Regions from separate parts of the Homo sapiens genome. Here all the other regions are linked to region 1. The links are contacts of gene promoters, found by promoter capture Hi-C in blood cells and fetal thymus (Javierre and others, 2016). All regions are on one chromosome and are shown on one strand. Each heading gives the region's core, a stretch centred on a gene start or on the middle of the fragment in contact. The rest is flanking DNA. Distances are from core to core; before and after follow the strand shown. Region 1 holds the start of METTL4 (methyltransferase 4, N6-adenosine). Region 2 overlaps TYMS (thymidylate synthetase). Region 3 overlaps ENOSF1 (enolase superfamily member 1). Region 4 overlaps ENOSF1 (enolase superfamily member 1). Region 5 overlaps YES1 (YES proto-oncogene 1, Src family tyrosine kinase). Region 6 overlaps YES1 (YES proto-oncogene 1, Src family tyrosine kinase). Region 7 has its middle 5.5 kb from the start of YES1.

Region 1 (3,657 bases), core at 796-3,295:
CTCCGCCTTCTCCCCCTACCGCTCTCCCTTCCTCCCACCCCCACCCACTGCAACAGCCCTCTAGCCTGGGAGGCTTGTTAGAGTAGACGTGAAGATCACAGCCTGTGGGACCACTGCTGAGTGTGTGGGCACTCAGTTTAAGTATTCAGTGATGCTCCTTCCAAACCACTGTCCTGTCCCCACCTCTTCCACTCCCACCCTTGGCCAAAGCACAGATCATAAGCCCTCTGCTCCGCTCCCCTCTGAGATTCGCCTTCCATGAGGAATTCAGGGCTTTCCCCATATCTTCTCTTCCCCACCTTTATCAAGAGATGCTGCTCCCTCCCCGTCAAGTCTCTTTTTGCACTGTCACCACCCAACACTTTCCACGACACTTCTTTGCTTTGACCAGAAGCCATAAGGTAAGGTTGGAAGAACATTTATTCACTCTCCACCAGCCTAGGAAATTAATAGTGGGTCCTCAGCCCTGCCACCTTCTGCTGTTATCATCAGCCTTTTAACTCAGGTTTTGATATGGTGAAAAGAGTCACCAGGGTTATTCAGACACCCCGGCTGTCAGGGTCCTTGGTGGTTAAACCTGGGAAAAGGCCACATGAAGACAACTGTAAGCACACATGATCCCTCTGAATTGTTTTCTTTTCCTGCAATTGTGCTTGCTCTTAAAAATTGAAGTTTTAAACAGGGCTCACATGTGATCATCCTTCCATCTATTGGAGTCTAGCTTGAAATGTGACAACCGGAACCAAAAGAACCTTGAATTTGGTGCCTACTTTGGTTTTGGTGCTGCTGCTTCTCAAGATCCTCAGCAGGGATTAAGAAGTTGGGGTGCACAGCAGGAATATCAGGAAATTGGCAGGCTTGACTTCCTGGCAAATTGCTAGCAGGACCACTAAATGCTGAACTGTACTGTGAATGTATACCGAAATACAAGCAATTATTTCTGTACTAAAGGTGTTTTTAATTTTGTATTTGTGTAAAACCACCTTTGGAAGCAGCAACTATCTAGTCAGAAAAGCAAATGATGTTTCCATTAATCTTTTCTGGGGAAAACATTAGTGCTAAGGATTTAACAATCTGTAGGTAAAGTTTAACCTAACAGTATTCCACAAGGAGACTTTTTATTATCAGACGGTTGCCTAATTTTCATATAATTTTTATATTAATATAATCCTTGGTTCCTCCCCATCCCCTTCATAGGCCACAGCTGAGGTGAAAAGGGTCCTGGAATGGCTAGTGAGAGCTAGAAATTCAGACGGGAAAATTGAAACTCAGAGCAGAAAGGCAAGCTGCCCAAAAATAACAACGCTAGTTAATGGCACAATTGCTACCAGACCCAAGTATCCAGACTTCCTGGAGCTGTGAGATCTTTCATCACCACCACTCTCCAGGTACCGGGCAGTGCCTGTTTCTGGATTCAAACTCACAGCAGCGAGGAAATCCTATTTTAGCAAAGTGATCTACTGTTACTGTTGTTAGTGCACCCCTCTCCTGCGTCTCTGCTTCACATCCACTCCCTCGCCGCCCGCCCCCAAACACTTGGATTCTTCCTAGCCTCTCACAGGTCAGCCACCACCAGAGGACCGTGAGCCTCCGGCAAGTGATCAAATACTGAGCCCGAATTTCGGCAGCCGTACCAACGCAATCCTGGGAGCCCATTCCACCCACTCCGCAGCCCCTCTCCCACCTCACCTCTTCCCTTGTCAGAAAAGCGGACGCCGCCTTCCCAGACTCTCCTCATGAAAACAGCACCCATCTAAATAGTGATCATGAAAAATGCCCCTTCCAGTCCACAGAGAAAAAGCTTTCTCCTTTTCTAAGAGTCCATGGGCGCCGCCATGTTGCTGTACGGAAAAACGTTTCCAGGGCGAGTTGAGCGTTCAGGGCACTCCTCGGCGCTCAAGCTGCCCACAGGTCTTCCGACCTAACTTTAGGGGTCGTGCCAGTCTTCGTAGAGACGGCCACACTGGCCCACAGACCCCAGTTCCTGGGGTGACGCAGCTGGGCGCGACCAGCACGCAGCCTTCCAGCGACGAGGCGGTCGCATGGAAGTTACTGCGCGCGTCGTGCGTAATGACGTCAGCGCCGGCGGAGAATTTCAAATTCGAACGGCTTTGGCGGGCCGAGGAAGGACCTGGTGTTTTGATGACCGCTGTCCTGTCTAGCAGATACTTGCACGGTTTACAGAAATTCGGTCCCTGGGTCGTGTCAGGAAACTGGAAAAAAGGTGACTGAATGACATCGGATTAACTTTGTTTCTGCAGAGCTGTTCTGGAGGAAGAAAGTGATGGCGCCAATGACTTAAATTTAGAGGTCCTGAGGCGATGTTTTGGTGTTTGTTTGCTGTTGGGAGAAGCCTCGAGGCCAAAACTGTGCGAGGCGCTGGTTTCACGGGATCTATTAAATTTCTAGTGGCAACGATTTCCCAAGGAGGAAAGGGGAGGGCCTGGGGGACACTGATGAGGAGTGGAGGCTCGGGAGAGGAAACGGGGAAGAATTGAAGGGGGCGGAAAGAGATGGACAAGAGAGGACTCGTTGGGTGGGTTGCGTCTGAATACTAGTGTAGCTTCTTATGGCCGTGTAGGACTGCGTGTAGAAGTCTTCATCTTAAATCATGAGAGCTACATTCTAAGTGGAGATTAAACGTGGACACACAGGTGTGAGTGGAAAAGTTGAATAGATGAACAAGCGCATATTGAAGAGGAAATAGGCGGCCAAAATCAAGAAGAGTCTAATCAGTGTAAAAGACTAAGGAGTACCCAGAGAAGTAAAAGGATTGTCACCTTCCTGAAAGCCAGGGCAGGACCTGAGAAGGCTGGGTGCAGAGATGAGACAGGATCAAAAGTTTTGTCAATCATGTGTATCCTAGGAGACAAATTTTTTAGCAGATGTGAAGGGAGTGACCTGTTAATGTGGTTTGTAAATGGAGGCAGCCTATAGACCATTTTATGGACCGGATGATTTATCCTTGTTGAAGGGGAGATTGATGCCAAAAGGGCAGTAATTGAGGAAACAATGGGTTAAGGACAGAGCAGGAGAGATTGACATTAGGAAAACAGAATAATTCCATTCTCTGAAACCAAAGAAAAGGAAACATTTTGAGGTGAATAAGAGAATTTGAGGTAATTTTTTTGTCTTCCTATTGAAATAGGCACAGCCAACAGCAGTAATGTGGTCTGGGTAACAGACAGGGCTTTAGCTACCACGGATACCCTTGTGAAGGCAAAAACCGTAACTTACTCGTCTTTGCATCTCCTGCATTGCCTAGCACACTCCCCTATATATATAGTGGGCAGTTAATAAATGTTTATGTTGAATATTTTTAAATGGAATTAAATAGATGTTCCTTGCAAATGAGAACTTCAGTGTACATGAACAAAAAAGAGATACCCCAGGGGAAAGATGATGATCTTGAAGAAACAATGAAACCTGACTGTCTTTCTGTTTAAGGATAAATAGTTGCTTAATGTACCATCTCTGTCTGGAAAGTTTTTTTTAAATACTGAATTCGTGAATGTAGGTCATAAGCATGAAGCGCAGTTCAGTTTCCAGCGGTGGTGCTGGCCGCCTCTCCATGCAGGAGTTAAGATCCCAGGATGTAAATAAACAAGGCCTCTATACCCCTCAAACGTGAGTATTTCCCTTGTGGTTCTAATTTGC
Region 2 (3,657 bases), core at 697-3,196, 1.9 Mb before region 1:
ACTGCATTTAAAGATAAGTTTTTACACTTTCATTTCTCTGTGGCTCGACACTTCTGATGCCTCCCTTTTTGTTCCTGGGACACATGCTTGGTGTTGTCTTCACACCTTTGTGACAGGATTAGCACTAGTGGGCAGTGGATGATAGCTCCTCCCTTTTGCCACATGTTCATCCCTGCCCTCGCCACCATCTCACTGTGTGGAATTCCTGTGTCCACTGGTCACCGGGGCACAGAAGTGCTGTCTCAGCCTGAATCGGGCCACTGATGGGACTTGCAGCCTGGGAGCTCCACCGTGATCTCTGGCCCACTTTGCGGGAGTCTAGGCTTTCTGGATGCTCCAGGGCCTCACGTCCCAGGGCAGTTTTCTTCCCTGAAGAAAGTTGGATGGCATGATCTGTCTTCCCATCTTGAAACCGTATGGCAAATTGTTTTTCAGATGAATTCCCTCTGCTGACAACCAAACGTGTGTTCTGGAAGGGTGTTTTGGAGGAGTTGCTGTGGTTTATCAAGGTAAAGAAGTCGCTGCTATTAGAAGTCAGTAGTCTGTTCTCAACACAGCAGCCAGTGAGATCCTTTCAAAACTCAAAGCAGCCAGGTGTGGTGGCTCACGCCTGTAATCCCACCACTTTGGGAGGCTGAGTCAGATCACCTGAGGTTAGGAATTTGAGACCAGCCTGGCCAACATGGCGACACCCCAGTCTCTACTAATAACACAAAAAATTAGCCAGGTGTGCTGGTGCATGTCTGTAATCCTAGCTACTCAGGAGGCTGAGGCATGAGAATTGCTCACGAGGCGGAGGTTGTAGTGAGCTGAGATCGTGGCACTGTACTCCAGCCTGGGCGACAGAGGGAGAACCCATGTCAAAAACAAAAAAAGACACCACCAAAGGTCAAAGCATATCATTCCTCACCCTCAAGCCCTTAGTGGCTCCATTTCACTCAGTAAGAGCCACGGTCCTTATGGTGTCCGTTTTTCAGCTCTGACCTTAGCTGCTGCTCTCTGCACCAGCCCTGCTGTTCTTGTGAGTTTTTGAGCACACCGGGACATCCCCACTCCCTGGAACCTTCTTCCCCCACACTTGGCTTCTTCCTTTGAGTCTCTACTCCACTCGGGCAAGCCTTCCTAGACCTCCTGATTTAAAACTGTGACTCTCCCCCAACCTCCTTGGTGTTTCTCCATAGACGAACATCACCATCTGATGTATGTCAGCCTTTCCCTTCCCCTGTTAGAAGGGGGACAGCAGGTAGTAAAAGTGAAATGTGCTGTAAGCTTTATGAGGGCAGAGGATTTGTTTCTCGTGTTCACTGTTGTATCGCCAGGGCCTCAAACACAGCCTGCCACATAGTAGGAGTCAACATATATTGATCACTAAATGTAGATACCACCTGTGTTCCCATGTTCATATAAATTCTAGAAGAGTCTCTTCAGTAACAAGGTGAACCCCTTCCAGAGGGCTGAGTAGGTACCTCAGGCCGGGGCCAGAGTGCTGTGAAGACAGGCAGCAGCCCAGACCAAGCTTCTCTGTGTTCCGTGTCCTGGTCTAGAACCAGCGATGTTCTTTCTGACCAGTGCTTTTTGGAAGGTGGCTGAGGTCTGGGCTCAGGTCTGGGCCATACTAGAAGCTGGGATCCCTTCTATAGAGCACTTGGTATGGCTTGTATGGTCTTGGGGCAAGCCAGACCCAAGCCCTCTTATCCCATTTTAGAAAGGGCTTCAATTTGGATCCAGCCCCAGGTCTGCCTTAGCTCTGTATTCTTGGGGTATTTTGTTCTGTATTGGCCTATCTTGACTAACAATGAACCTTGGATTTGAAACATATCATCAGAAACCTCAGAAGACAACATTCTTAAACTGGCTAGAGCCTGGTCTGAATGGATGAAAAGGAGAGACTTTTGAAGCAATATGTAAAAGATTGAGAAATGATTTGTTGGAAATTTCTCAATTGGAGAAATTTCTTTGATTTGTTGGAAATTTCTTTGATTCTTTCTCAATCAAAGAAAATCGGGACAAACTCAACAATAGAAAGGGAGGAAGCAAGATACTCAGAAATAAAATGCATTCCCCTGTTTCAACTTAATGCTTCAATTCAGGATTCTAAGGAATCCTTGCCAGGAATGTCAGACTCACCTTGATAGTTGGAGTTACTCCATTGGTGACTCGATCAAATACAGGAGTTGAGGCACCTGCACTGTAAAATACTGATTAGTCTGATCATTAGGAATATCCTGTATGCCAGGTAGAAGATACATTGAACAGATTGCATGTAGGCATTAAATTCATTTTGGGGTATTACATATAGACAACACATTTCATTAAGAAACATAAAACTGTCAGATCGGTGGAATACTTAAAAGCACTTGGAGGTGTTTAGCCTAAAAAGCTTAGTTGAGGGGAATGGAAGAAAAGATCTGGGAGGGTGGTTCCAAAGAAGGGATCAGACTGTCCTAAAGCCCTCAGGAATCTGGGCTGGGACCAGCCTACTTAAAGATAGGATGGGCAGCTGGGTGTGGTGGCTCACGCCTGTAATCCCAGCACTTCGGGAGGCCGAAGTGGGCGGATCACCTGAGGTCAGGAGTTCGAGGCCAGCCTGACCAACATGGAGAAACACTGTCTCTACTAAAAATACAAAATTAGCTGGGTGTAGTGGCGCATGCCTGTAATCCCAGCTACTCGGGAGGCTGAGGCAGGGGAATCGCTTGAACCTGGGAGGTGGAGGGTGCCGTGAGCCACGATCGCGCCATTGCACTCCAGCCTGGGCAACAAGAGCGAAACTCTCAAAAAACAAAAAAAAGGATGGGTTCCATATGGGTGGTGTCAAGTGCCCACCTCCTAGCAAGTCAGCAGGGGCCAGAGGCCCTTGTAAGTGGTGTCTCGGGGGGATCAACTGAGATGGCTTAGGATTTACCTGGATGCCTGCTCTGCTCTCCCCATCTCTTCCAGGGATCCACAAATGCTAAAGAGCTGTCTTCCAAGGGAGTGAAAATCTGGGATGCCAATGGATCCCGAGACTTTTTGGACAGCCTGGGATTCTCCACCAGAGAAGAAGGGGACTTGGGCCCAGTTTATGGCTTCCAGTGGAGGCATTTTGGGGCAGAATACAGAGATATGGAATCAGGTGAGGAGATAGAACAATGCCTTCCATTTCCCGGGTGCCCTTCCTAGCATGTGTTTGCTCCGTTGTTTTAGATAAGGTCTGGGGGATGAGTCAATGTCACAGGAGCTGATGTATAGCTTTGACCTTGTGAGGGGTGGTGCCAGGTTAAGCCACAATTAAGCCTCATGAAGGCCGTTTCACACTCTTTTTTTTTTTTTTTTTTAATTATTATACTTTAAGTTTTAGGGTACATGTGCACAATGTGCAGGTTAGTTACATATGTATACATGTGCCATGCTGGTGCGCTGCACCCACTAACTCATGATCTAGCATCAGGTATATCTCCCAATGCTATCCCTCCCCCCTCCTCCCACCCCACAACAGTCCCCAGAGTGTGATGTTCCCCTTCCTGTGTCCATATGTTCTCGTTGTTCAATTCCCACCTATGAGTGAGAATATGCAGTGTTTGGTTTTTTGTTCTTGCGATAGTTTACTGAGAATGATGATTTCCAATTTCATCCACGTCCCTACAAAGGACATGAACTCATCATTTTTTATGGCTG
Region 3 (3,657 bases), core at 425-2,924, 1.9 Mb before region 1:
ATGACCGTTCATTGGTGGGTCTCTGTGAAAGCAAAACCAACTCCGCCTGAGAGTTATAGGACATGCCAGCGGACAAGGTCTTAGTGTGTTCTGGTCATGAAGGCAGAATTTACAAGCTCTGGCCTGGATTGAGGGACCCTACTGAAACAGAAAGTATTAATGCCACATTACTGACCTATTTTCAAGGCTTGCAGAAACTGATATGTAGTCAAATATAATCAGGTGCTGCACCAGTTCACAGAGGCCAACTCCACCAGCATGGGGGCAAACAGGAACTAAAAGGAAATCGTTTCTATTTAATACCAAGAGTAGGGCAGGGAGAGGAAGGGGTGAAAGGGAACTTTCTGGTTTTTCTTATTGCCCACAGGTGATTAAATCATTTATTAATATTTAGGAAGGAAATTCCAAGATGAAAATCATCAAAAATTCCCGGATTAAAGCTAAATGAGAGTTAGAAAAAAATCGAAATGGCAAACTACAGACTCCCATGCATGTGAATTGCAAACCATCAAGGGAGGTGTCTGATTAGTGGGGAAATGAAGGTCTGGTCTGCAGCCGCTGCAGCACGCTTACTTTCAAACTTTTTGGCCATCAGCAATACTGAGAGGTTCTCATTGACACTGCCCAGTCTGCAACTGTCAATCTGGAGGAACTGCAGGGCCTTCGCCTGTAGGAGTTGCTTAAATATCACTCTATTGTGGCACTGGAAATAGAATTGAAAATAACACCAACAGAAGAGTCAGCCTTGGCCTTCAGGATCTCTAAACCTGGCAACGCAGCCACTCTATGCCAATAATTATTCATCAGTGGCCGTCAGGAAGCCCAGACTGTATTTCTTCTTTGTTCTCGCTGGGCATGAGGCGAGCTTTTATAGCGTGGGCAGGGACCTTGTGCTCACTTCTTTACAAATCTGCTAATGCAACAGTGTGAGTCAGGTCAAAATCACACTGGCTCGCCATTTATGAGGGAATGACTGTCACAGCGACTGATAAGTGGGAGATGAAGCATCAGGATGAAATACGGTGACAGTGATGAGCAGGTGGCACAGATGACAACACGGAACCACGGCAGAGCAGTATTGCTCCTTTTGCCGGGAAAACTGAGAATCAGCTCCTCACGCTGCTCTGCTCGTGGGCTGACTGCAGCAGGTTTTGGCAGGCACTCGGGCTTCATTTATAAGCTCAAAAAGTGAACGCAGTCATGTTTATTCAATTTGAAAGCTGGCTTTCTTAAGACCATTTTCTGCCCTTGCAATAGCAACTTTAAATTGCTGCCTTTTCAATTTCAATTAGACACTTTGAAAAAGATACCCGACCTTAGTCATATAAATTGGAGAAATAGCCACAAACTTTTTCTATATCTGACTCTAGACTCTGATAAAATGACCCAGTTTCTAAGATGATGAAAATTTCCCAACTCAAAGTACAGCAGGTGATGGAGCCTAACACACAACTGTGTCCTCGGTCACTGGTCAGCGTGTACTGACCCCAAGGGGACGTCATCCACCTGTTGGGGGCGTCACTCACCTGTTCTCCTGTGGCAATGCCAATTCCTAATGGGACCAGTGCCTATAAAATAGAAGGCAGCCTGGTGTTATTTTCCTAAGTTTTGAACTGCAACTCCTAATGTTTAAAAACATTTATAGCTGAAGGAGGAAACGGCCCTGCTGTTAAGCCATGTGAAGGCTCAAGACTGGCAAAGGATGTCCAGGGGAACACATGCGTGCGGGAGGGCTCTGTGTATCTGCAGAGGAGAAGGTGAGCACTGCTGAGCTGCCACCACCAGCCCCGTTCCTGACCAGGGCTCTGCAGATCTCCTTCTGCGGTGTCCCGGCCCATGCTCCAGCTGCGCTCCTCCCAACGTGGACAGCACCTCCCTCTCCAGCCTGCGCAGTGGCATAAGGACAGGGCTATTCGGAGTGGCTCATTGTGGACTCACAGGGTCCAACCTTTGGACGACTCCTTCCTGTGGGTCATCACTCCATCAATTCCCTTCTTCTTGCCTCCCTGAGAAACCTCCTTCTAGAACCCTCTCATATCTTTTTTTTTTTTTTTTTTTGAGACCGAGTCTTGCTCTGTCACCCAAGCTGGAGTGCAGTGGCATGATCTTAGCTCACCGCAACCTCCACCCCCCAGGCTGAAGCGATTCTCGTGCCTCAGCCTCCTGAGTAGCTGGGATTAGAGGTGCACGCCACCATGCTGGCTAATTTTTGTATTTTTAATAGAGTCAGGGTTTTGCCATGTTGGCCAGGCTGGTCTCAAACTCCTGACCTCAGATGATCCTCCCGCCTCGGCCTCCCAAAGTGTTGGGATTACAGGTGTGAGCCACTGCACCTGGCCTCATGTCTTTGTTGATTCCAAAATCCTCTTCCTTAAGGCAGGAAAAATCCATGAAAAAAAAAAAAATCCTCTTCCTTCCAGCTCAGTGGGTGGCCTCAGACCTCAATCTGCAGGTTAGGCTGAGACCATTGCTCACCTGGTAGAGTCCTCACCTGGTGAGGTACTGGACTCTGCACCTGAACACAGCCCTGCTGCTCTCTGTCCTCTCACCTGGCCCCTGAACACTACCTCCGTCACCTGCCACCTGGACTCTGGGCGCTCCCATCCATCCTCTACTGTGACTGCGACTCCACAGCTACTCCGCACAGGTAGCCTTGGTTCCTCCCTGGCTTCCCTTCCCTTTGCTTAGGGTAATAGTAATCACACTGACAGCTAACATTTTTGGAGCTCTGAGTACCTGTCAGGTGCTGTGCAAAACACTGACTTAAATGATTCCTGGTCTCAATCCAATGGGAGAGGAGCCAGCGTTATCCCCATTTTATAAAAAATGATAAAACTGTGTGCCGGGTTTGAACTGTTCCTGGATCACAAAGCTAGAAAGTGGTAGAGACTGGGTTGGAACTCCACTGATTCCAGAGCCAGAGGAGGCATCTGAATAATCAGACTAAGCCAACTTCTCAGCAGAAAAATCCCTTCACTCAGCAGCCAAGTATCCCTGATTCCGGTGCTGGCCCCGCATCTCACGGGATGTGTGGCCTTGGGCAAGCCCCGCCTGTGCCACCCAAAGCCTCGGCCTCCTCATCTGCAGAAGGCCTTAGTTTGAGCAGATGGTCTCTAAGGCACCTTTTCAAGCCAACATTTTATGCTTCTTAAAATTTCTAATTTAAGTACTCTTGGTTATTTATCTCCAAAGAGAAGAGAAAGGGAGAAACGGAGGAAGGGGGAGGAGGAAAGGCCATTTGACTTATTTGTTCTACCATTTTAAGCATATATGGCAGACTAGGGGCCAAATGTTTTTCCTCCTTTTCAATATTTCCTGAATCTGCTCTATTCAAGCTGCCCTCTCCCTTTATCTCTCTCAGATTCCTGGAAAAGCCTCCTCGCTCCCATCCCTGCCTGGGTTTCTCCCTGCCCATTCCTCACCTCCCACACACCCTCTGTCTCAATGGACTCTACATGTAGCCACCAGTCACATTATCTGTGCTTCAGCTGTCACTATGCTGTTGTGTTTTTTTTTTTTTTTTTTTTTTGAGATGGAGTATTGCTCTGTCGCCCAGGCTGGAGTGCAATGGCGCAAACTTGGCTTACCGTAACCTCCACTTCCCAGGCTCAAGCCATTCTCCTGCCTCAGCCTCCTGAGTAGCTGGGATTACAGGCA
Region 4 (3,657 bases), core at 463-2,962, 1.9 Mb before region 1:
CAGGGTCCGTGTGCTGCAGGAGAAGAGTTCCCCGCCGAAACAATGCCAGTGTGAGAAACCCGAAAAGAACCATGAGAATGATGTCACATGAGGACAGACAATGCCACAGGGGCCGTGCCACAAGAGCTCCCATAGAAGGAACTGTTGCTATACCCCAAAGAAAACAAAGGGCTCTGAATGGAGAAAAGGAATGTCCTCCTGAAAGATCCAAAATGTTTCAACAAGAGCAATGTATGTATATATATATATATTTTTTTTTTTTTTCTTTTTTGAGACAGAGTCTTGCTCTGTCACCTAGGCAGGAGTGCAATGGTGCGATCTCAGCTCACTGCAACTGCAGCCTCCCAAGTTCAAGCGATTCTCCTGCCTCAGCCTCCCGGGTAGCTGGGATTACAGGCACGTGCCACCACACTTGGCTGATTTTTGTATTTTTAATAGAGACGAAGTTTCACCATGTTGGCCAGGCTGGTCTTGAACTCCTGACCTCAGGTGATCCACCTGCCTTGGCCTCCCAAAGTGCTGGGATTACAAGTGTGAGCCACCGCACCTGGTCGCAATGTATACATTTTTATCACCCATTTTCAATTAGGTTAAAAAATGAGGCTCAATTTTATTTACTTATTTATTTTTTAAATAAAAAAATAGAGATGGAGTCTTGCATGTTACCCAGGCTGGTCTCAAACTCCAGAGCTCTAGTGATCCACCCGCTTGGGCCTCTTAAAGTGCTGGGATTACAGGCATGAGCCATCATGCCCGGAAGGGGCTCAATTTTAAGCCAAGGAGTTTTCACTCGCAGCTATCTCTGTCAGCTTTTTGAACAAAGTTACATTCACAAGCAGCTTCAAATTGAACAAGCCAAAGGTTCAGAAAACTGTTGCATAAAATTGGAGTGATCTCACTTATAGCAGTTTATAGCAGGGCTGAAAATACATTGGCAAAAGTTCAGACACCAGTGGGGGAAAATGAAGAAGTAAAGCTTCGAGATTAATTCACTAATTTTTTGTTTTGTTCTATGTCATGGAATAATGGAGACTCCAAAAAGCCAGGCAGAAGATGTGAATGCATTCATAAAGAAGAATTGTGCATAAGGCTATGAAAATTTATTACTGTTATTATTCTATAATATTTATTGTGCCAGACACACTATATTCTAAGAGCTCCACATGGTTTAATTTAATCTTATAACAATATTATAAAGTAGGTGCTCTTATCCTTATTAAAGAGGAAATGAAGTTTTAAGGAGCTTTAGTAATTTACAAAAGGTCACACCACAAGTAAATAATGTTTTATTATTATTATTATTATTATTTTTGAGACTGACTCTCACTCTGTTCTCCAGGCTGGAGTGCAGTGGCATGATCTTGGCTCACTGCAACCTCTGCCTCCTGGATTCAAGCGATTCTTCTGCCTCAGCCTCCCAAGTAGCTGGGATTACAGGCACCCACCACTATGACCAGCTTTTTTTTTTTTTTTTTAGTAAAGATGGGATTTTGCCATGTTGGCCAGGCTGGTCTTGAACTCCTGACCTCAGGTGATCCACTTGCCTCGGCCTCCCAAAGTGCTAGGATTACAGGTGTGAGCCACCACGCCCGGCCACAAGTAAATTATGAAGGCAGATTTTAAATCCCTGTATTGGGGTGTCGTGGCTGAGGGAGCTGTATGTGATGGCTGGGAGCCCTGAGTCTGGTATCACAGTCCAGTGGCAGGAAATCAGTGTGATGCATCGCTGAGCATCAAGTACGTGTCAGAGCTGGTGCAGCTTGCTAGGGGGTTACAGATACGTCTGCCCTTGAGGAGGTTACATTTGAGAAGACCTGCTTATAGAACGGGCATGCTGGCTCATACCTGTAATCCCAACACTTTGGGAGGCCAAGACAGGAGGATTGTTTGAGCCCAGGAGTTCGAGACTAGCCTGGGCAACAAAGCGAGACCCCATCTCTAAAATAAATAAATAAAAAGACATGGTTAAAAAAAAACCTTAATAATATAAGGCAGAAAATGCTAAGGCCTGGGAGGGATGCAAACTATGAACGACTGGCAGAGAGCGCTGTTAGCTGAATGTGCTTCTTGAAGAGGGAGAGCGCTTTATGATGAAGACAGAATGTGAGCTGGCCGGTCAAGGAAGGGGAGCTCCTCAGCAGTGGCAAGGGGAGTGAAGAGTCTGGGAGGGAGGAATATCTCAGGCAAGGTAGCAGCAGCAGCAGTGCAGAAAGTAAAGGGGTCAGAAGAGGGAGAGACTGGAGTGTATTCAAGTGTTGGTGCCCACCTGGGTTGGCTGAGCCATTGGGTTCCTGAAGGAGTTGAGCGATGAGGCTGAGAAGGAGACTCCAAGAATTAAAGACCCATCGGCAGTTTCTGGGTTCCAAGAAGAGGAAGCAATGGAAAAAGGAAACCTTGCACTGAAGCCTCAGATGAGGGTCAACAGGACGAGATGAGCCAAAAGTGACTCGAAGCTTTTGGGTCCCTGTGATTAGCGGAATGATCCAACATGGGTCAGGAGGGAGGGGCGGCAGAGAATGGAAGTTGACTTCCGATTTAGACAAACTGCGTTTAGCATGAAGGTGAAAAACCAAACAGGAAGTATCCAGACCTATAAGTTAAGGAGGCAGATCCGGAAATGAGATCTGGGAGTCTCCGGCATAAAGGGTGGCACCGAAGTCAGAATGCGGAGAGGGTCTTCATGGGAGTGTGTAGGGAGACCGGAAAGACACTGAGGCCTGAGCCTCAGAGAGGGAAGAAGGGGCCAGTGGAGGAAGAAGGAGCTGTCAGAAAGGCAGGAGGCCACGAGGGGAGAGAGCACACGAAGAAGAGGCAGCCGACAGCGGAAAACGTATCTGAGGGTAAGGACAGCTGAAGGAGAAATAACAAGGGCAATTCACAGAGAAGAAAGGAACAGAAGTAGATTTCAGATTAAGAAGGAGGTAAGCCCGGAGTAGTGGCTCATGCCTGTAATCCGGCACTTTGGGAGGCCGAGGCAGGTGGATCACCTGAGCTCAGGAGTTCGAGACCAGCCTGGACAACATGGTGAAACCCCGTCTCTACCAAAAATACAAAAATTAGCCAGGTGTGGTGGTGCACACCTGTAATCACAGCTACTCCAGAGGCTGAGGTACGAGAATCATTTGCATATGGGAGGCAGAGGTTGCAGTGAGATGAGATTGCACCACTGCACTCCAGGCTGGGCAACAAGCGAGACTCTGTCTAAAAAAAAAAAGCAGGAGTCTTTAGCAGATTTTGAGGACAGCTTTATTGCTCTTTCTTGAAAATATCCTACTTCTGATCAGGGAGGCTCACTTTGCTAAGTGCTGATGGTCCAGCATGCCTCGAGGGCATGTGAAGCCATCTCCATGGTGAACTGCAAAACAGCTCATTCTAATAAGAAGGCACTTGAGAGCTGGCACACAACATACACCCTATCTCCCCAAGATAAAATGCTTAAGTATTTATGAGCTTGCAATACAGGTGTTAGATAATGTCTCCTTACCCTGTGTTAGACATCACTCAGGCCCAGAGGCAAATTCCATTTCTTGAATTATTCTACAGTAAACCAGGCTGTCTTTTGAGACAGGGTCTCTCTCTCTCACCCAGGCTGGAGTGCAGTGACACAATTACAGCTCACTGCAGCCTCGACCTCCTGGACTCAAGAGATCCTCCCAC
Region 5 (3,657 bases), core at 713-3,212, 1.8 Mb before region 1:
GTTTCTCCTCTCTTGCTTTTTAATTTGATTAAACAAGCATTTTTCAATGTTCAATTTTTTCTCTCCTCTGTTGGCTTTTTGTCTTCTCTTGTTATTTTAGTAGTTATCATTGAGACTACAATATGCTTCCTTGGTTTATTGTATGTTACTCAAAATAAGTACTTTTACCTGTTCCAAACTTAGAACGGTTTACCTCTTATTCCCTGACCCCCTCTACCCTTTGTGTTACTGTCACAGTCTATTTTTATATACATTATAAATTCGGTAAGATTTTTTATTGTTGGTGTTTTAGATCAGCAGTTTTCCCCAAAGCACTTTAAAGGCATAATTTCACTCTTCCCTGGCTTCCATATCTGAGGAAAAGTTAGCTGTCTGACTGTTGTTCCTGCGTAGATAATATATAGGCTGAGTATCCCTTATCTGAAATGTTTGGGACCAGAAGTGTTTCCGATTTTGGATTTTTTTGGATTTTGGAATATTTGCATATACATAATGAGATATCTTAAGGGATGGGACCCAAGTCTAAACACAAAATACATTTATGAGCCAGGCACGGTGGCTCGCACCTGTAATCCCGGCACTTTGGGAGGACAGGGCAGGCAAATCGCTTGAGCCTAGGATTTTGAGACCATCCTGGGCAACATGGTGAGACCCTGTCTCTACAAAAATTAGCTAGGTGGATGGCACACACCTGTGGTCTCAGCTACTTGGGAGGCTGAGGTGGGAGGATCACCTGAGCCCAGGGAGGTAGAGGCTGCAGTGAGCCCTGATTGTGCCACTGCACTCCAGCCTGGGTGACAGAGACCCTGTCTCAAAAAAAAAAAAATTCATTTATGTTTCATATACACCTTATACATATAGCCTGAAGGTAATTTTACATAATTTTAAAAATAATTTTCTGCACAAAACAAAATTTTGATGGTATTTTGACTGTGACCTGTCACATGAGGACGGGTGTGGAATTTTCCATTTGTGTTGTTATGTCAATGCTCAAAAAGTTTTGGATTTTGGAGCATTTCGGTTTTTTTTCTCTTTGAGATGAAGTCTTGCTCTGTTGCCCAAGCTGGAGTGCAGTAGTGCAATCTTGGCTCATTGCAACCTCTGCCTCCCAGGTTCAAGTGATTCTCCTGCCTCAGCCTCCAAGTAGCTGGTACTACAGGTGTGTGCCACCATGCCCAGCTAATTTTTGTATTTTTAGTAGAGATGGGGTTTCACTACATTGGCCAGGATGGTCTCAAACCCCTGACCTCGTGATCCACTGGCCTCGACCTCCCAAAGTACTGGGATTACAGGCCTGAGCCACTGCGCCCAGCTGCATTTCGGATTTTTGAATTAGGAATGCTCAATCTGCACCACCTCCTTATGGCTGTTTGGCTTTGATTTTTGTAATTTGACCATGATATGTTTGCTTGAATTTCACTGAGTTTAATTTTCTTGTTTGAGGTTCACTTAATCTGTGGGCTAGTATTTTGTTTTATCATATTTAGAAGATTTTTAGCCATTACTTTTTAAAAATGTTGTTACTGTTTCATTTTTTTCTCTCTTCTGCTTCTGGGACTCCACAAATTAGACCTTTTCACTATGCCCCACTGGTTTCATACATTCTGTTCTGCTTTCTTCCCCATTAGCTTTTATCTATGCATTACCTTGGATACTTTGTTAATGTGTCTGAATCCACTAATCTTGTCTTCTATTATGCCCATCTAGTGAGTACTTAATTTGATATAATGTTTTACAGTTCTAAAATTTCCATTTGAGGGCCAGGCGGGGTGGCTCACGCCTGTAATCTCAGCTACTTGGGAGGCTGAGGCAGGAGAATCGCTGGAACCTGGGAGGCGGAGGCTGCAGTGAACCAAGATCGTGCCACTGTACTCCAGCCTGGGAGACAGAGCGAGACTCTGTCCCAAAAGAAAATAAATAAATAAATAAATACAATTTCCATTTGATTCTTTTTTTTTTAATAGATTCCAATTCTGCTCAAATTCTCCAGTTTTTCATTATTTTGCAAAACTTTTCTTCTATTTTAACATTCCATATATTGCTATTTTGAAGTCTTTTGCTAACTCCAAGATTTGGATTATCTCAGAGTCTGCTCCTATTGATTTTGAACTTTTTTTTTTTTTTTTTTTTTTTTTGAGACAGAGTCTCGCTCTGTCACCCAGGCCAGAGTGCAGCGGCGCAATCTCAGCTCACTGCAACCTCCACCTCCTGGGTTCAAGCGATTCTCCTGCCTCAGCCTCCCGAGTAGCTGGGATTACAGGCGCCCGCCACCATGGCTGGCTAATTTTTGTATTTTTAGCAGAGATGGGGTTTTACCATCTTGGCCAGGCTGGTCTCAAACTCCTGACCTTGTGATCCACCCGCCTTGGCTTCCCAATGTGTTGGGATTACAGGCGTGAGCCACAGCGCCCAGCCAGATTTTGAACTCTTGATAATCAGTCATCTCTTCCCTTCTTCATATATCTAGTAACTTTTTATTTTGTGCTAGACATTTTGAATCATACACTGTAGATTATCTGGATCATGTTATCTTTTTCTGAAGGATGTTCAGTTTAATTCCATTTGGAATTTACCAGCAGATCACCTAGTTGTTAGGGCTTAGTTTTGCTCAGTTTTGCCCTTTCTCCTAGGGTATGGACTTTCTGGGGTCTCAACAAAAAGCCTAGCGTATTCTCCAACATCTATCCAGTTTGGCTGGGCAAGAACTCCTCAGCACTCTGTAGCCTCTGAACTCTGCTCGACTCCCCAGCCTCCTAGTGGCTATTTTCTGTTAGGTCTCCCAGAGACTCTCCCTGTGTATGTGCAGATTAGAACTGACCAAGGACCCAAGAGGATTTTTTTTTTTTTTTTTTTGAGACAGGGTCTTGCTCTGTTGCCCAGGCTGGAGTGCAGTGGCGCAATCATAGCTCACTGCAGCTTCAAATTCCTGGGCTCAAGCGATCCACCCACCTTAGCCTCCCAAAGTGCTGGGATTATAGGAGTGAGTCACCACGCCCAACTGGAATTTTAAAGCAGAATTTTAGAGTTCTTTCCCTATGGTTCCTTCTCTGGGACCCTGTCCTTCAGATCCCAGCACTAGGATCTCTGCCTCATTTGCTTAATAAGACTTATGCTTTCTGTCTGGGTTTTACTGCCCTGTGCTATTTTAGAAAATGCCTTCAGAAAAGCCAATATAAATGGGCTTCCTTGATGCAATGTCCTATCAGTTCTTTTACATATTTTATTTAACTTTTGTAGTTGTTTACAGTGCTATAATAAGTTGGATATTAGCCTCTCCATCATAGCTAAAACTGAAAGTTCCTCATGGTTATACATTTAAAGTGACACTATGTTGCATGGCTGTGTGGTTTTTTTCTAGCCCTGTCTGCAAGTGTGGTGTAGGCAGAGTTGGATTTATTTAATGTGGTGATTTTGCTAAGCAATGATGATGAAATCAGAGAAGGGTGAAATCAGCAAAGGAGTGATTATACTGCTTCACTAGGGAATTTAAGGAGTAGAATTGTTTCATGAAGGGGGTGAGAAGCAGGAAAAGGTGGCAGAAACAGTGGAGTAAAGATCCTGGTAGCATCAAGAAATTGCTAGGGTTGGGGTGGAGGGAGTTATCTGGAAAGATGGCAAGTGGTGGTCAGAAAGTAGATGCATGAAATAGATTTTGAA
Region 6 (3,657 bases), core at 765-3,264, 1.8 Mb before region 1:
GGCGCATGCCACCATGCCCGGATGATTTTTTGTATTTTTAGTAGAGACAGGGTTTCACCATGTTGGCCAGGATGGTCTCAAACTCCAGACCTCGTGATCCACCCACCTCGGCCTCCCAAAGTGCTGGGATTACAGGCGTGAGCCACCGCGCCTGGCCATTATAATTATTACCTGAAATGAGGTTTCACTCTGTCACCCAGGCTACAGTGCAGTGGCATGATCATCGCTCACTACAGCTTCGAACTCCTGGTCTGAAGCAATCCTCCCATCTCAGCCTCCTGAGTAGCTAGGGCTACAGGCATCTGCCACTACACCCAACTAATTTTTTAATTTTTTGCAGAGATGGGGTCTCACTAAATTGCTCAGGCTGGTCTCAAACTCCTAGGCTCAAGTGATCTTCCCACCTCAGTCTCCCAAAGCACTGGGATTACAGGTGTGAGCCACTGTGTCTGACCTGCATGATCCCTTATACAAAAAAAGTAAGAGAATTAACTGAAAAGCTATCAGACACAGATTTCTATAGAGCAGCTACAAAAATATATTGAGAAATAAGTAGTTTTGTAATATACCAAAAATAGTTATAAAGTAGTACTCAACAAATGATAGGGATCTATCAAAAGTACATAGGAACTAGTTTGAAGAGGCTCTTGCTGACCAAACACAGAATCTGAGCATCAAGAAAAAAAAATGGTGACACTAACAGATTACAACTAGTTGACTAAGATAATCCATAAGTCACTCTGATAAATAAATAAGGACAGGAAGGTTCTCTCTTACAGAATCCCAACTACTAAACTTGGAGTAAGAGAGCTACACATTCAGCACACGTATCCCAGAACAACTCTTACTGCAATAATTAATTCAGCCAAGGAATCATCAATGGAAGCAAAAACTATTACCTTATCTGTAATTTACTAAAAAGAGAAATATGTTCATTTTGTGGTGATGAAACCTGACAGATATCACTTAACTAAGTAATCAAAGTTAATACTGCCAATAGTAGGATAGACTAACACAGCGTGCCTCCTGATGTCTTGTACTCTGAAGAACATAATAGCCTTTAAGTGGTACTCCTGCCTCAAATTCATAATCTAAATCAAATCATGAGGAAACATCAAACAAAAACTCATCGATGTACACTATACAAAACCAGTAGTCTAACTTTTAAAAATATCAATGTCATGAAAGATAAAGCCTGAAGAACTGTTCAGATTAAAGGAGACTAAAGAAACATGACAATTAAATGCAACATGTATTTCTAGATTGGATTTTGGATTTTTGTTATAAAGAATATTATTAGGACAATTGGAAAAATATATGAACTACTGTATTACTTTCCTTGCCACATTTCCTTTATTGTTCCCTCCTAGGGCTGCTGTAGAAAAAAAATGGCTTAAAATAACAAATTTATTATGTCATAGTTCTGGAGGCAGGATGTCCAAAATTCAAGTGTCAGCAGGGCTATGCTCCCCCTGACACTCTGGATACCATCCTTCCTTGCCTCCTCCTAGCTTCTGATGGTAGCTGGCAATCCTTCGTGCTCCTGGCTTACAGGTGCATCCCACCAATTTCTGCCTCTGTTGTCACAAGGCATTCTCTCTGGGTGTCTGTCTTCACATGTGGGTTTTTGGTTTTTGTTTTGTTTTGTTTTTTGAGACGGAGTCTCACTCTGTCGCCCAGGCTGGAGAGCAGTGGTGCAATCTCGGCTCACTGCAACCTTGCCTCCCGGGTTCAAGCAATTCTCCTGCCTCAGCCTCCCAAGTTGCTCGAACTACAGGCGCGTGCCACCATGCCTGGCTAATTTTTGTATTTTTAGTATAGACAAGGTTTCACCCATTAGCCAGGATGGTCTCAATCTACTGATCTCGTGATCCGCCTGCCTTGGCCTCCCAAAGGATGCTATTTCCAAATAAGGCCACATTCACAGGTACTGAGGGTTAGGACCCTTTTGGGGAACATAACTGAATCCGCAACTGCAAATTAGGTAACTGTATTATACTGATGTTGAACTTGTTGAATTCAGTAACTGTACTGCAGTTGTATAAGAAAACGTCCTTGTTTTAGGAAATACATACTGAAATATTTAAGGGTACTGAGACATGCCATTTGCAATTAACTTTCAAATGGTGGTGGTGGGGACACGTATACACACATACCCAAGGAGGGAAACATAAAGGAAATGTGACAAAATGTTAACAACTGGTAAATCTGGGTGGAGGGTATCCAGTTCTTTGTGCTACTCTTGCAACTTTTCTGAACTTTGAAGTTATTTCTAAATAAACTTGCAGCACTATTTACAACAGCAAAGACTTGGAACCAACCCATATCCCCATCAATGATAGACTGGATAAAGAAAATGTGGCACCTATACACCATGGAATACTATGCAGCCATAAAAAAGAAATGAGTTCATGTCCTTTGCAAGGACATGGATGAAGCTGGAAATCATCATCCTCAGCAAACTAACACAGGAACAGAAAACCAAACACCGTATGTTCTCACTTATAAGTGGGAGATGAACAATGAGAACACATGGACACAGGGAGGGGAACATCACACACTGGGGCCTGTTAGGGGGTGGGGGGAAGGGGAGGGAGAGCATTAGGAGAAATACCTAATGCATGCGGGGCTTAAGACTAGATGACGGGTTGATAGGTGAAGCAAAACACCATGGCACATGTGTACCCATGTAACAAACCTGCACGTTCAGCACATGTATCCCAGAACTTAAACACACACACACACACACACACACACACACACATAAGACCTATGAGTAAGTAAAACAAAAGTTCAGAGTCTATATAATAAAACTGGGATATAAAAGACAATCTCAAAAAATAAACACATCACTTATTTTTAGAAGGTACATTACAAAGATGCCCATCCTTCCTACATAAATCTAAGTAACATTAAATCAAAATCACAATGAAGTTCACATGAAAAAGTAAATGCATATGAATAGCTGAGAAAGTTTTGAAAAGGAAAACAGGAAATTTGTCCTTCTAGGAATCACAGCCTCATGGTTAAGGGTATAGGCTCTGGAGTCACAAAGTTAGGTTACAGTCCTAGCGTGTAATTTGAGTAAATTTAACCTCTTGAAGCCTATTTCTTTATCTGTAAAAATAAAGATATCAAGAATACTTAACTGTTGAAGGTTCTGTGAGAAATGAGTTAGCTAAATATGTTAAAGTATTTATACAGGGACTGTCACACAGTCAATTATCAATACACATTAGTTGCTGTTATCATGGTTATAATCAACAGCATCAAGCTATTTGGTATTGGCATAGAAACAAACAATTAGGCCGGGTGCAGTGGCTCACGCTGGTAATCTCAGCACTTTGGGAGACCGAGGCGGGCAGATCACAAGGTCAGGAGCTCAAGACCAGCCTGCCCAACATAGTGAAACCCGTCTCTACTAAAAATACAAAAATTAGCCGGGCGTGGTGGCAGGCATCTGTAGTCTCAGTTGCTGAGGCAGGAGAATCACTTGAACCCGGGAGGTGGAGGTTACAGTGAGCCAAGATGGCACCACTGCACTGGCCTGGGTGACAGAGGAAGACTCTGTCTCATAAAATAAATAAATAAAATAAACAATTAAATCCCTCAAAAGAAAGAGCCCAGAAACAGGCCCAAGAGTAAAAAGAATTTGCA
Region 7 (3,657 bases), core at 517-3,016, 1.8 Mb before region 1:
AGATGAGCACCTTACATCCTCTTACATGCCCTCTGCCGAGTAGAATACAGCCTGTAGTGGACACCTCTTGAGGGTGCCTGTTTAACTCAAGTTCCTCTTCTCTGAGAATTAATTCTTCGATAGGTGGCATGTAGGCCTATGATCTGAGTACTGCTAATCCCAGGTTCTAGGCTGAAAGTTTGAATTTTGAGGAGTAACACAAAAGTAACTCGGTTAGTGATTATTCATGGTAACCATGGTGGAGTTGAGTCAAATGACAGAAGATGAGTGTCCAGGGGTAGAGGATTCCAGTGCTGGTGGTGCCTGCGTCATGAGCATACCATCCCCGTGGCAGAACCTGGACTTTGTCTTGCCTTCCTTGCTTCCTGCCTGAGCCTGCTCCTCTAGTCTTCCTGTTGATTCTCACCATCCTCCAATAAATTCCCTTTATGCTTCAATAGAGACCATTTTTGTTCTTTGCAAATGAAAACCATTACTTAGTCTTTGCTACTTACTTGTGCAGCCAACAGTAAACTCAGGAGCTGTGAGGGTGGCATCTCCTGCCACGTGCTTGGAGAGGCAGTGGGAGTGGGATGGGGAATCCAGTTTTCACAGAGGATGAAGCAGGCACAGCCAGAGGTGGGAGATAAGAGATTGTGGGACCCCAACACTGAGACTTGAGACTTGTGACTTTTGTCACATAGAAGACCCCAAACCTAGAACAGAGCTGGCAGGTCAGTCTCTCCTCCTGCTTGCCCATGGCAGTCATGGCTTTTAGACCATGGCATAGCATATACTCTCCCCCAGAGCATTAATACCATCCTCAGAATCCTCAACACAATTCAGGCAACAGCCACTGCAAAACTGGAGTTAGAATACATTGAAAACCATTTCATATCTCTGCCCTATCGGCTTACAATTTCCTCCTGAGTCTATATTTGCAATTTCTGTAGTCATTAGCAAGTGTTTGGCCCATACTTTTCTGAAATATTAAGCTGATATATAGTCGTGTCAGTGTCTGACATTGAGTTTAGACACCAGTAAAATTGCTACCAGATTGCTACTTCCTGGAAATCTTTACAAATGGGTTATGAAAAGTAGAACATAACATTGCTTGAAGGCAAGAAGTTAAAGTAGATTGTTTACCTGCATTGAGTGTTTAGAAAAGAAACTATAAATCAAGCTCTTATCTTTAAAGTTAACGGACATCAGATCATGAAACATAAAAGGTTAGTATTAAGGAAATTTGTATTAGATGTTTTGCAAGGTAACACTGTAACTGGGTTTTTTTTTTAATGTGTTTAGAATAAATCCATGCTTTTGAAAACCTTGTTTTAATCTCCTCTCTAAGGCTAAATCTTCTTTATGCATTTTTGGCTGTATAGATCCTTATTTTTCACATTGAGCAAATTTTAAATTCTGACTAGAGATATTATATGATGTAAAGAGTAAAACAGGCCTGCCGCGGTGGCTCACGCCTCTAATCCCAGCACTTTGGGAGGCTGAGTCAGGTGGATCACTTGAGGTCAGGAGTTTGAGACCAGCCTGGCCAACATGGTGAAAACCCCTCTCTACTAAAATACAAAAATTAGCCAGGCATGATGGTACACGCCTGTAATCCCAGCTACTCTGGAGGCTGAGGCAGGAGAATCGCTTGAACTTGGGAGTCAGAGGTTGCAGTGAGCTAAGATCACGCCACTGCACTCCAGCCTGGGCGACAGAGTGAGACTCTTGTCTCAAAAACAAACCAAAAAACAATAAAACATTTAATATTAACAAACTATGTTCATCTTCTTTGACTTGTATATGAAAAGGGCTTTTGATTACTTGAAATAGCTACTTAATGTTTCTTTTTTCTAAGGAAAGCACATATGCAACAAATGTTTAATGTAAGACCCATGCTTTGATGAAAGGTGTTTTACGTCATGTGAATGAATGAATTAATCAGTGCAGACATGAGGATTGATAAACAACAGCAGTGGCAATGGCTGTCTTTTTATTGAGCCTTCACTATATGCCAGGTGCTTTACCTACATCATTCACTGAATCTGCACAATAACCTTGGAGGTTGGTAGTATTATCACCATTTACTGATTGGATGCCTCAGGCTTGGAGGGGTTAAGCAACAGACAACTAATAAGAGGAGATGCTCCAAAACCTATTCTACTCAAAGTCACTGTGATTACAAAAAAGAAATTATTTTTAAATGTTATTTCAGTGACCATGTAAAATATTATTTCTCTAAATTCTGGAATCATAAAAATGGGTAAATTGCCTTTAAAATTAGGAAGATATAGCTAAGAAATGTGAGAGTGTACAAATTCAAGGAAATCCTTCTTTATATTACAATCTCACATCCCGAAGAAAGGGTTGGAGCAAACAGATTTATGAGAGACTAGCCTAAAAAGAATGAATTCATTTCAGAAAAAAAAGCATGTATTAAATATGACTCTCTGGAGAGATTAGTTATTTGCATCTATCAAGTCAAACTTCCATCGACACTACCTAAAATCATGGTCTTCCAACAAAGAACCAAATATGGGAAATGACCATATACATGCATAAATTACCTTACCAAATACAAAATGTCCAAGTTACGTCAATATTAAGGTTCGTATTTTAATCTGCTCTGACTGTGTAACTGTATAGTTAAACCTTCCATAGTAACTCAATGATAAAAGTCATTAACAGTTAATAATAGCCCAACACTAGGTAAGATTGTTTAATATTTTAAAAATCAGCTCATTCATTCATAAAACAGAGTGCCTCCTGATAAATTCTGTGTCTTTTGGCCTATATTAAGAGATTTTTTTTTTCTCAAGAGGGAGCCTCTCTCTGTTGCCCAGGCTGGAGTGCAGTGGCACGATCTCAGCTCATTGCAAGCTCCGCTTTCCGGGTTCATGCCATTCTCCTGCCTCAGCCTCCCAAGTAGCTGGGACTACAGGCGCCCGCCACCATGCCTGGCTAATTTTTTGTATTTTTTTTTAGTAGAGACGGGGTTTCACTGTGTTAGCCAGGATGGTCTCAACCTCCTGACCTCGTGATCCACCTGCCTAGGCCTCCCAAAGTGCTGGGATTACAGGCATGAGCCACCGTGCCTGGCCAAGAGAGATCTTATGACTTTATTAACTTAGAGATAAATACCAGGACACATTGTACTGAAATCCAAGGAGTGTGAACATTAATAGATTTTCAAATACTTTATTAAAATTTATTTTCAGAGATAAGGAAATTAATATCCTACCAAACTTCATGGGTTTTTTGTTTGTTTGTTTTTGAGACCAAGTTTCGCTCTTGTGCCCAGGCTGGAGTGCAATGGCACGATCTCAGTTTACCACAACCTCCACCTCCCTGGTTCAAGCAATTCTCCTGCCTCAGCCTCCCAAGTAGCTGGGATTACAGAAATGCACCACCATGCCCGGCGAATTTTGTGTTTTTAGTAGAGACGGGTTTTCTCCATGTTGGTCAGGCTGGTCTTGAACTCCGGACCTCAGGTGATCCGCCCACCTCGGCCTCCCAAAGTGCTGGGATTACAGGCGTGAGACACCGCCACCGGCGAAAGTTTATATTTGAATGCATAGGTGTCAGGCTGGGAGTGGTGTCTCACACCTGTACTCCCAGCACTTTGGGAGGCCAAGGCGGGGGGGATCATGAGGTCGGGAGTTCAAGACCAGCCTG

The links. The method cuts DNA at HindIII sites, captures the fragments that hold promoters and counts their contacts. A CHiCAGO score of 5 or more calls a contact.
Region 2: a contact is called between a fragment that was not itself captured here and the fragment with the promoter of METTL4 in region 1, in 1 of 17 cell types (erythroblasts). The highest score is 10.8, in erythroblasts.
Region 3: a fragment that was not itself captured here is called in contact with the fragment with the promoter of METTL4 in region 1 in 2 of 17 cell types (erythroblasts and M1 macrophages); the score reaches 6.0 in erythroblasts.
Region 4: a contact is called between a fragment that was not itself captured here and the fragment with the promoter of METTL4 in region 1, in 2 of 17 cell types (erythroblasts and megakaryocytes). The highest score is 9.2, in erythroblasts.
Region 5: a fragment that was not itself captured here is called in contact with the fragment with the promoter of METTL4 in region 1 in 1 of 17 cell types (erythroblasts); the score reaches 5.0 in erythroblasts.
Region 6: a contact is called between a fragment that was not itself captured here and the fragment with the promoter of METTL4 in region 1, in 1 of 17 cell types (erythroblasts). The highest score is 7.5, in erythroblasts.
Region 7: a fragment that was not itself captured here is called in contact with the fragment with the promoter of METTL4 in region 1 in 4 of 17 cell types (total CD4 T cells, megakaryocytes, naive CD8 T cells and 1 more); the score reaches 6.2 in total CD4 T cells.

The regions. Positions count from the first base shown.
Region 1 is chr18:2,569,460-2,573,116 of GRCh38, forward strand. It overlaps METTL4 (methyltransferase 4, N6-adenosine), which reads right to left and starts at 2,046. Exons shown (of 9, transcript NM_022840.5): 1 at 1,690-2,046. It overlaps NDC80 (NDC80 kinetochore complex component), which reads left to right and starts at 2,098. Exons shown (of 17, transcript NM_006101.3): 1 at 2,098-2,224; 2 at 3,518-3,627. The coding sequence starts at 3,527. RefSeq lists enhancers at 1,139-2,061, 1,944-2,103. The HindIII fragment of the contact is 2,186 bases long and covers 1,800-3,657 here.
Region 2 is chr18:659,206-662,862 of GRCh38, forward strand. It overlaps TYMS (thymidylate synthetase), which reads left to right. Exons shown (of 7, transcript NM_001071.4): 2 at 436-509; 3 at 2,941-3,115. Among named protein-coding and RNA genes, the nearest start is that of TYMSOS, 2.7 kb to the left of the region's middle. The HindIII fragment of the contact is 864 bases long and covers 1,515-2,378 here.
Region 3 is chr18:677,170-680,826 of GRCh38, forward strand. It overlaps ENOSF1 (enolase superfamily member 1), which reads right to left. Exons shown (of 16, transcript NM_017512.7): 12 at 1,527-1,568; 13 at 574-703; 14 at 176-275. Among named protein-coding and RNA genes, the nearest start is that of TYMSOS, 21 kb to the left of the region's middle. The HindIII fragment of the contact is 7,224 bases long and covers 1-3,657 here.
Region 4 is chr18:706,566-710,222 of GRCh38, forward strand. ENOSF1 (enolase superfamily member 1) reads right to left here. Exons shown (of 16, transcript NM_017512.7): 2 at 1-13. Among named protein-coding and RNA genes, the nearest start is that of ENOSF1, 4.2 kb to the right of the region's middle. The HindIII fragment of the contact is 1,477 bases long and covers 975-2,451 here.
Region 5 is chr18:727,510-731,166 of GRCh38, forward strand. All of the region lies in intron 11 of YES1 (YES proto-oncogene 1, Src family tyrosine kinase), which reads right to left. Among named protein-coding and RNA genes, the nearest start is that of ENOSF1, 17 kb to the left of the region's middle. The HindIII fragment of the contact is 6,709 bases long and covers 1-3,657 here.
Region 6 is chr18:793,182-796,838 of GRCh38, forward strand. All of the region lies in intron 1 of YES1 (YES proto-oncogene 1, Src family tyrosine kinase), which reads right to left. Among named protein-coding and RNA genes, the nearest start is that of YES1, 17 kb to the right of the region's middle. The HindIII fragment of the contact is 4,646 bases long and covers 1-3,657 here.
Region 7 is chr18:815,932-819,588 of GRCh38, forward strand. No RefSeq gene overlaps it. Among named protein-coding and RNA genes, the nearest start is that of YES1, 5.5 kb to the left of the region's middle. The HindIII fragment of the contact is 6,417 bases long and covers 1-3,657 here.